Linked DNA regions of Homo sapiens: region 1 is linked to region 2. Evidence: promoter capture Hi-C in 16 types of primary human blood cells and fetal thymus (Javierre and others, 2016). All regions are on one chromosome and are shown on one strand. Each heading gives the region's core, a stretch centred on a gene start or on the middle of the fragment in contact. The rest is flanking DNA. Distances are from core to core; before and after follow the strand shown.

Region 1 (4,594 bases), core at 1,866-4,365, 600 kb before region 2:
TGCACTTCAGCCTGGGCGACAGAGTGAGACTCCGTCTCAAAAAAAAAAAAAAAAAAAAAAAAAGGAAAGAAAGAAAGAAAATACATTACAGGGTTCCACCAGGCAGCACACCCAGAGAGGAGCTAACTGCAAGGAGACAAAGGCTTGGTGGGGATTTTAGAGAATGGTGCTTTGGCCGGGTGCAGTGGCTCACGCCTGTAATCTCAGCACTTTGGGAGGCCGAGGCGGGCGGATCACGAGGTCAGGAGATCGGGACCATCCTGACTAACACGGTGAAACCCCATCTCTACTAAAAATATAAAAACAAAATTAGCCAGGCATGGTGGCGGGTGCCTATAGTCCCAGCTACTCAGGAGGCTGAGGTGGGAGAATGGCGTGAACCCAGGAGGCGGAGCTTGCAGTGAGCCAATATCGCGCCACTGCACTCCAGCCTGGGTGGCAGAGCAAGACTCCTTCTCAAAAAAAAAAAAAAAAAAAAAAAGGACTCATAAGTTCTGCCCTAGATCAAAGCAACCTTAATGTGGTACAAATTATAGGCTATGACACACATAGCATTCTTGCCTGTTTTGGAAGGTGGCTGACATGAACTGTGTCACCCAGGTCTGAGTGCAGTGGCATGATCATGGCTCACTGCAGGCTCGAACTCTTGGGCTCAAGCCATCCTCCCACCTCAGCCTCTGGAGTAGCTGGAATCACAGGTGTGCCCCACCACACCCAGCTAATTTTTTACTTTTGTAGAGATGGGGTCTCAGTTCTTTTTTTTTTTCCTTTTTTCTCCTTCCCTTCCTTCCTTCCTTCTCTCATATCTCTGCTTTTCTTTCTTTTGCTTTCTTTCTCTTTCCTTTCTTTTTCTTTCTTTCTCTCTTTTTCTTTTCTTTCTCTCTCTGTCTTTTCTTTTTTCAACACGACTGAGCCTCACTGTCGCCCAGGTTGCTGTGCAGTGGTGTAATCACAGCTCACTGCCACGTGGAACTCCTGGGCACAAACCATCCTCCCACCTCAGCCTCCTAAAGTGTTGAGATGACAGGCATGAGGCACCCAGTACGGCCTCATTCAAATTTTCTAAGTCCGCTTATGGAAGCATGCACCTGCAGTCCCAACTACTTGGGAGGCTGAGGCAGGAGGATCACTCCCCAGAAGTCAAGGTGACAGTGAACTATGATCGCACCGCTGCAATCTAGCCTGGGTGATAGAGCAAGACCTCATCTCAAAAAAAAAAAAAAAGTTTGACAGGTGGTGGAACACACTAGAACTTCAAAACTTTGAGACTCTATAATTCTGATTTACATGAGTTTGGGAAAGACCCTGTGCTCTCTCTGCCTCTGTTTTTTCATGTGTAAGATGGGAGGAATCCCAGCACTTTGGGAGGCTGAGGTGGGTGGATCACCTGAGGCTAGGAGTTCCAGACCAGCCTGACCAACATGGTGAAACCCTATCTCTACCAAAAATACAAAAATTAGCTGGGCATGTTGGCACATGCCTGTAATCCCAGCTACTCGGGAGGCTGAGGCAGGAGAATTGCTTGAGCCTCGGAGGCAGAGGTTTCAGTGAGCTGAGATCGCGCCATTGCACTCCAGCCTAGGCGACAGAGTGAGACTCTGTCTCAAATAAATAAATAAATAAATAAGTCTATGAAACATTTATTTCTGGAATTTTCCACTAAGTATTTTTGGACTGTGTTTGACCATGAGTGACTAAAACCACAGAAAGCAAAACTTTGGATCAGAATTGACTACTGTATTACCATAATTAATTCTGAATACAGGTGTGACCGTGGTGATTGCTGGCAATAGGGCACTGAAAATACCACTGTTTTGAAGAGAATTTTGTTTTATGACAAAATGTAAGTATAAGAATAAAAAACATCTAAGGGAAAAATACCAGAACATTTATGCACATGCTAATATTGAGTCAGAATGTATCTTGACAAAATGACAAAGTTGATCTGAATATTCATAACTGTAATGGGATATTTTAATATAGCCTTTCAGGAAACGGGGAAGACAATTATTTGTTTTTGAACTAATAGAGATGGGGTCTTACTATGTTGCCCAGGCTGGTCTCCAACTTCAGGCCTCAAGCAATCCTGCCTCAGCCTCCCAAATTGTTGGGATTACAGCCATGAGCCACTGCACCCAGATGATGATAATATTTGATAGTATACATGTTGTTTGGAAACAGTTAACAAAATATTTCTAAGAAACATCTAAGAAGCTTTTGCTTCAAATAAATAAAAAATGCATTATTTTAGTTGCATACAACCAAACATAAATGAAAATAAACCGATGGAGAATATTCAGGAATAGTTGGAAACACCCACAATTTGTCTGATATGAGGAAGGTGATTATTCTCAAATGGAAGGATGGGGGAGAGTAGTCACTGTATAATGCAGTAAGAGAACAAACTCCCATATAGTTGTTTTTTTTTTTTTTTACTGTTTTACTGTAGCTGTCATGGTGGAATCAGGAATACATAGTCCCTAGTGGCATTAACAGAACAAGAACCATACAAATTAAAGCTCATAGAAACACAAAGGGAAGACAGAACCTCAGAGAACAATGCCAACCATGACAGTCTGAAATAGATGCTTGGGCCACACATGAAGGCTAGAAGGAAAATCCAAACTGTACGTGGATCTTTGATGCGGAGCTTGTGGAGACAACTGTGGAAACCAACACATCTCTTTGAGAATGGAAGTCAAGCAGCTCAGGGTGTTTTCAGGATACTTTTGATTGGCAGAGAAAATAACCAGGAAAATGAGCAGGAAGCAGGCTGTCTCCCTGTATGGTGGGGTTCCAATACCTGACTAATGTCTTCTTCACTTCTGCCTGGCAAATCTCATGCAAGTGAGGCTATAAGTGAATTTCAACATGGATCTATAAAGGGAACAGATTCTAGGAAATTTACCTGTGTCGACAGGTAGCAGGAGGGCCACGTCCAGCTCTAGATTTTATTGTCCTATCACAGGTGTCCTTCCTGAATTCAAACTCTACTATTCAAATCCCAGACAGAATTATAAAAAAAAGGCGAAAATAATAATTCGCATAAGAATATATGATAAACTTCACATACTTACCAACTTATGCCAGATGTTTAATAAAAAGGAAAATGGAATAAGGCTCTTCTAGCTGAAATTCATTTTATTTATTTATTTATTTGAGATGGAGTCTCGTTCTGCTGCCCAGGCTGGATTGCAGTGGCACGATCTCGGCTCACTGCAAGCTCCGCCTCCCGGGTTCACACCATTCTCCTGCCTCAGACTCCTGAGTAGCTGGGACTACAGACGCCCGCCACCATGCCCAGCTAATTTTTTGTATTTATAGTAGAGACGGGGTTTCACTGTATTAGCCAGGATGGTCTCAATCTCCTGACTTCGTGATCCGCCCACCTCGGCCTCCCAAAGTGCTGGGATTACAGGTGTGAGCCACTGCGCCCGGCAAGAAATTTATTATATTTTAATTTAATTTTTTTGATATGGAGTCTCGTTCTGTTGTCCAGGCTGGAGTGCAGTGGTGTGATCTTGGCTCACTGCAACCTCTGACTTCCAGGTTCAAGCATTTCTCCTGCCTCAGCCTCCCAAGTAGCTGAGATTACAGGTGCCCTCCAACATGCCCAGCTAATTTTTGTATTTTTAGTAGAGATGGGATTTCACCATGTTGGCCAGGTTGGTCTCGAACTCCTGACCTCAAGTGATCTGCTTGCCTTGGTTTCCCAAAGTGCTGGAATTACAAAGGAGTGAGCCACCGTGTCTGGCCAAGAAATTTAAAAAGCAGTTTTTCGGAAAAGGTGAAATAAATATATAATGGGTAATATATGCACCACCTTCCACATGAGGCCAGTAGGAAAAATCCTAGTTACAGTGTGTCAGTATTCAACAATCTCTTTATTCAGAGAACAACTGAAAAACTATACACAAATTAAAACTAATTGTATATTAAAAATACACTTCTACTAACACTGGTCTTTAAAAGAAAAAAAAAATACACTTCAGGCCGGGTGCGGTGGCTCAAGCTTGTAATCCCAGCACTTTGGGAGGCTGAGGCGGTCGAATCACGAGGTCAGGAGATTGAGACCATCCTGGCTTAACACGGTGAAACCCCATCTCTACTAAAAATACAAAAAAAATTAGCTGGGCATGGTGGCGGGCGCCTGCAGTCCCAGCTACTGGGGAGGCTGAGGCAGGAGAATGGCGTGGACCCGGGAGGCGGAGCTTGCAGTGAGCCGAGATCACACCGCTGAACTCCAGCCTGGGCAACAGAGCAAGACTCCGTCTCGAAAAAAAAAAAATACACTTCAGTTTACTCATGAATCAAGACATCAAGAGAAAGAGAAAAGTTTTACTAACTGATTTAATGAGAAAACACAACCTTTTAAACTTTTGACCACTGCTTAAAGAGTACTTACAGAATTATCTCACTTCCAAGACTTCTTGGAAAAGTAGTTAAGTTACAATTCATAGTCCAGAGATGTACTTGAAGAATGAGCCAGTGATAAAAAATTTTTAACTTTTTTTTGGTGTGTGGGATGGAGTCTTGCTCTGTTGCCCAGGCTGGAGTGTAGTGGCACAATCTCAGCTCACTGCAGCCTCCACCT
Region 2 (4,740 bases), core at 699-3,198:
GCTTTCAGGTAAATTAGTAAGGAGTGCCACTTCCACCTGATGGAGCAGTTAGTAAATCCTCAACCAATTATCCTGTTCCAGTGATTTAGTTGCTGTATAAGAGTTCCAACATAAATGTTGCCAGGAGCTAAAAGTATGACTCTACATCTGAAAACCCTTTTGCAAGAATTATAACAGTGAGAAAATTATGACAGTGAAAGAGATCAGATCTAAGCGAACTCCATCTTTTCTTTAGCCTCCAAGCTACCCTTGTTCATTCCCGGGTATAGGTCTTACTAATATTGGAAGGAGTTTAGTTTAGCTTTAAAGCAAAAGTCATAACTGCCGCTTCCGTAAAGAAATTGTCTCCTTGCTTGGGAACCAGATTGCCTTTGTAAAACTAAGAAATTAGCCACAAGATTAGAAATTATGGTTCAGGAAATATGCGGCCAGAGTACACAAGATTCCCAACCTTCTCACTTGCTCCTGTGGATAATATTATTGTTGTAAGACCTAAGATTGGTGTTTGAGGTATTTTTGAGACCCTTCATTCTGATAAATTTGCTGGCATCACACAGACCAATAAACTGGCTCACCTGCTCCAGTGGCCCCTAGCCAAGAACTGACTCAGTGCAAGAAGACAGCTGAGACTTCCTGTGATATCCTTTTCGCGACCAATCAGCATTCCCCATTTTCCAGCCTTCTGCTCACCAAATTATCTTTAAAACCCTAGCCTCGGCCGGGTGCGGGGGCTCAGGCCTGTAATCCCAGCACTTTGGGAGGCCGAGGCGGGTGGATCATGAGGTCAGGAGTTTGAGACCAGCCTGACCAACATGGTAAACCCCGTCTCTACTAAAAATACAAAAATTAGCCGGGCATGGTGGCGCATGCCTGTAATCCCAGCTACTCAGGAGGTTGAGGCAGGAGAATCGCTTGAACCCGGGAGGCGGAGGTTGCACTGAGCCGAGATTGCGCCACTGCACTCCAGCATGGGCGACAGAGAGATTCCGTCTCAAAAAAAAACCAAAAAAACAAAACCTAGCCTCCCATTTTTTAGGGAGACAGAATTGAATAAAAATAAAACTCTTCTCTTTCATTTAGCCGGCTCTATGTATATTAAACTCCACTGCAATTCCCTGTCTTTTTTTTTTTTTTTTTTTTCGGAGACAGGGTCTCACTCTGACATCCAGGCTGGTAAAATCACAGCTCACTGTGGCCTCGACCTCTCTGGGCTCAGGCGATCCTCTCATTTCAGCCTTCCGAGTAGCTGGGACTGCAAACATGTACCACCACGCCCGACTAATTTTTGTATTTTTTGTAGAGGCGGGGTTTTGCTATGTTACCCAGGCTGGGCTTAAGTTCCTAGGCTCAAGCAATCTGCCTGCCTTGGCTTCCCAAAGTGGTGGGGTTACAGGCATGAGCTACCCCCACCCCCCCAGCCCACCGCCGGACGAGCTAAAGTTTCTATTCAACAGTACTCTATGGCAGGGGTCCCCAACCCCCGGTCCATGGCCTGTAAGGAACCAGTCCGCACAGCAGGAGGTGAGCGGCTGGCGGGCGAGCCAGCGGGCATTATCGCCAGAGATATGCTTCCTGTCAGATCAGCAGAGGCATTAGTCTGTCATAGGAGCCCGAACCCTATTGTGAGCTGCACATGCGAGGGATCTAGGTTGGGTTCGCCTTATGAGGATAAAATGCCTGATCTGAGGTGGAAGTTTCATTCCGAAACTATCTGCCCCCGTAGGAGAACTGTCTTCCACGAAACCGGTTCTGGTGCTAAAAAGGTTACAGACCTCTGGCTTAAAGAATCTATCGCTGGATCCGGTCAAACCCGTTTTCAGAGCCCCGTTACCAAGGGCTTCTATTGTCACTCACGGCTGAGGGGGCGGGGCCCGGCGCTTCGTCCAATCAGGGGCGCTGGGCGGGGCCTGCCGAGTGTCCATCGGGGAGGGCGAAGGCCCTGCTCTCCTCGGTTCCCGGCTCCAGGCGGCGAGCTGAGGTTGGGAGCCTGGCTTTCCCCTCCGAGAGGGTTCAGGTGCCTCTGCCATAGCTTCTGTCGCCTGTGCTGTGACCCGCACTGGTCGTGGGAGTCACCTGAAAGGCAAGAAATGGTGAGCGTGCGGGCCAGGGGTCCCGAGGCGGGGGAGGAGCTGGTTGGAACCGGCCGGAACCGGCTGTGGTGGGACCCGGGCCTCCCCGCGGCGACTCCGGGGTCTGGGACCCGATTTCCCGTGGGACAGCTCGGCCCTTGGTCCCCTTGGCCCCACAGTGGGGCTGGGCCGGCCGCCGGGACCCGGGCGTCTCGTCCTGTCCCTGCGCGGTGACTGTCACCCAGTTCCCAGAGCCCTCTCTGGGCAGCTCCGCGCCCGCTGCCCCGCGTCTCCCCACATTGTGCGGGGACTACGCGAGGGTCATGGGGGGATCCCGCCTCGGGTGTGGGGGTTTGTGTAGGAGGAGGGTGGGCTGTGGGGTCCCCAGTAGCGCCTTTCTCCTCTTAAAAATTAAACTGAGACACGTTAACAATTATAGTTTTGCTTCTCAGAATAGGTTTTAAAAAATATATTAATAATTAGAGTTCCTTTGAGATTCCTGAATGATAAACACCCAGTCCTGGCTTGTAATTTGTTAACGGAAAATGCCAAGCTGTGTAAAATAACTTAAAGAAGTTTATTCAGAGCCGAATAGGAGAGGCCTCAGCTGAGGAAAACACAACCCCAGGAGGCCTGAAGTAAGTGGTCCCGAGGCGGCTCAAGACTGTTTTTATTCATTTCAGGGAGACAGGAATTGCAGGGAGAATCATGCATCAATGCCTGGAAAGGTGTAAGTTCCTTTGGCAGAAAGGGCGGGACCTGTGGAAGGGGGGTTAGAAGGTGCAGGTGGTTGAGGGATTCTGAAGGTGGCCGTTGGTGGAGAGTGTGAAGCTTTGTCTAAAACTTCGAGGCGGTAGGAAGGATTGCTTAAGTGAAGAGGGTCTGGTATCTGTCATATGATTTCATCCCACCCAAAACAAAAGACCTGTTTCTTTAGATTTTGTGAATTCTAAGATTTGACTTACCTCTTGCCTTGCATGGCCTTAGGTCTTGTTTGTAATTTGGTTTCTTATTGTCACAGAGAGTCTGTGTTTCCAGTTGGCTGATGTCTGTTTTAACATGAAGGTGGGTCAGTGGCTATGTGGAAACTCCTAAAGGAAGCGGGTATAATGAGGCCTGTCCAGGTATAGTGAAGCCTGTCTGATGGTTAATCTGTAGTCAAGTGTGGGAGGGTTCCAGCTGGCTCTTTCCAGTGTCAGGTGACTCAATTCCAGAGTCACATTACTTTAAACTTCAAGATAATTTAGAGTTCCAACAGCTTCAATTTTTGAATTACTTATTTTCACAGACCATACAGTGGAAAATTTTTGGTTGTATAATCAGAGGTTACTCGACCAATTGTACCTGGTTAAGCCCATATTTCATTTCCCAATAAATTAGTAACTTGTTATTGTTTTCTCAGGCCACATACCGTCACATAAGTTAGTACTTTATATGAATAGCATTTGAATTTGATTTCCATGTTCTTGGCCAAGATCTTAGAGTACTATAGGCATTAAGTTTAATTACTTCTTATTCAAAATTTTCAACACTCCCCAGTTAACTGGTACTTCTCTGCATTTTCCAAATATATGGGAAGTGAGATCTCAAACCCTCCACCCTGTGACCCTGGCCTACCTCTGGAGAGCTTGCAGTACAATACTAAAATTTCAGTTCCTTTCTAAAATTTGCAGACACCAACTCTCCTTCTTCAATTTGTAGTATCAACTATTTGTTTTTGTTTTTGTTTTTTTTTGGAGACAGAGTCTTGTTCTGTCACCCAGGCTGGAGTGCAGTGGCGCGATCTCTACTCACTGCAAGCTCCGCCTCCCGGGTTCACGCCATTCTCCTGACTCAGCCTCCCAAGTAGCTGGGACTACAGGAGCCCGTCACCACGCCTGGCTAATTTTTTGTATTTTTAGTAGAGACGGGGTTTCACTGTGTTAGCCAGGATGGTCTTGATCTCCTGACCTTGTGATCCACCCGCCTTGGCCTCCCAAAGTGCTGGGATTACAGGTGTGAGTCACTGCGCCTGGCCCGTTTTTTGTTTTTGTTTTTTTGAGACGGAGTCTCGCTCTGTCGCCCAGGCTGGAGTGTAGTGGCACAATCTCTGCTCACTGCAAGCTCCACCTCCCGGGTTCATGCCATTCTCCTGCCTCAGCCTCGTAAATGAAAATGCACTGGCCAGGTGCAGTGGCTCATGCCTATAATCCCAACACTTTGGGAGGTTGAGGTGGGTAGATCACTTGAGGCCAGGAGTTTGAGACCAGCCTGGCCAATATGGTGAAACCTTGGCTCTACTAGAAATACAAAAGAAATCAGCCAGGTGTGATGGCACACACCTGTAGTCCCAGCTACTCCAGAGGCTGAGGCCTGAGAATTGCTTGGACCTGGGAGGTGGATTCTGCAATGAGCGGACATCGCACCACTGCACTCCAGCCTGGGCAAGTGAGTGAGACTCTGTCTCAAGAGAGGGGAAAAAAAAAAAAGGAAATGCACTTGGGGCACACAGGGGCACAGTGCAGTGTTGTTGGAAAATAGTCACTCAGCACTTCAGTGAGCAGGATGGGCACAGAGAAATGTCCCATGTGATAGGATGGCCTGACACTTGAGTCAAACATCACTGTGTTCTTTCTAGTCAGCATTGCCCCTCTGTGGGTTTGTCTTTTTGTAAATAATTGTTCACTTATTG

What was found. The method cuts DNA at HindIII sites, captures the fragments that hold promoters and counts their contacts. A CHiCAGO score of 5 or more calls a contact.
Region 1: a contact is called between a fragment that was not itself captured here and the fragment with the promoter of ZNF433 in region 2, in 3 of 17 cell types (megakaryocytes, erythroblasts and endothelial precursors). The highest score is 8.3, in megakaryocytes.

The regions. Positions count from the first base shown.
Region 1 is chr19:12,631,660-12,636,253 of GRCh38, reverse strand. ZNF791 (zinc finger protein 791) reads right to left here. Exons shown (of 4, transcript NM_153358.3): 4 at 2,420-4,594. LOC105372279 (a long non-coding RNA gene) reads left to right here. Exons shown (of 4, transcript XR_007067142.1): 4 at 1,766-3,115. Among named protein-coding and RNA genes, the nearest start is that of ZNF791, 23 kb to the right of the region's middle. The HindIII fragment of the contact is 1,798 bases long and covers 2,217-4,014 here.
Region 2 is chr19:12,032,887-12,037,626 of GRCh38, reverse strand. ZNF433 (zinc finger protein 433) reads left to right here and starts at 1,948. Exons shown (of 4, transcript NM_001308348.2): 1 at 1,948-2,090. The coding sequence starts at 2,088. It overlaps ZNF433-AS1 (ZNF433 and ZNF878 antisense RNA 1), which reads right to left. Exons shown (of 3, transcript NR_134929.1): 2 at 1,855-2,073. RefSeq lists silencers at 1,834-1,993, 2,234-2,283, 2,294-2,413. The HindIII fragment of the contact is 7,472 bases long and covers 1-2,902 here.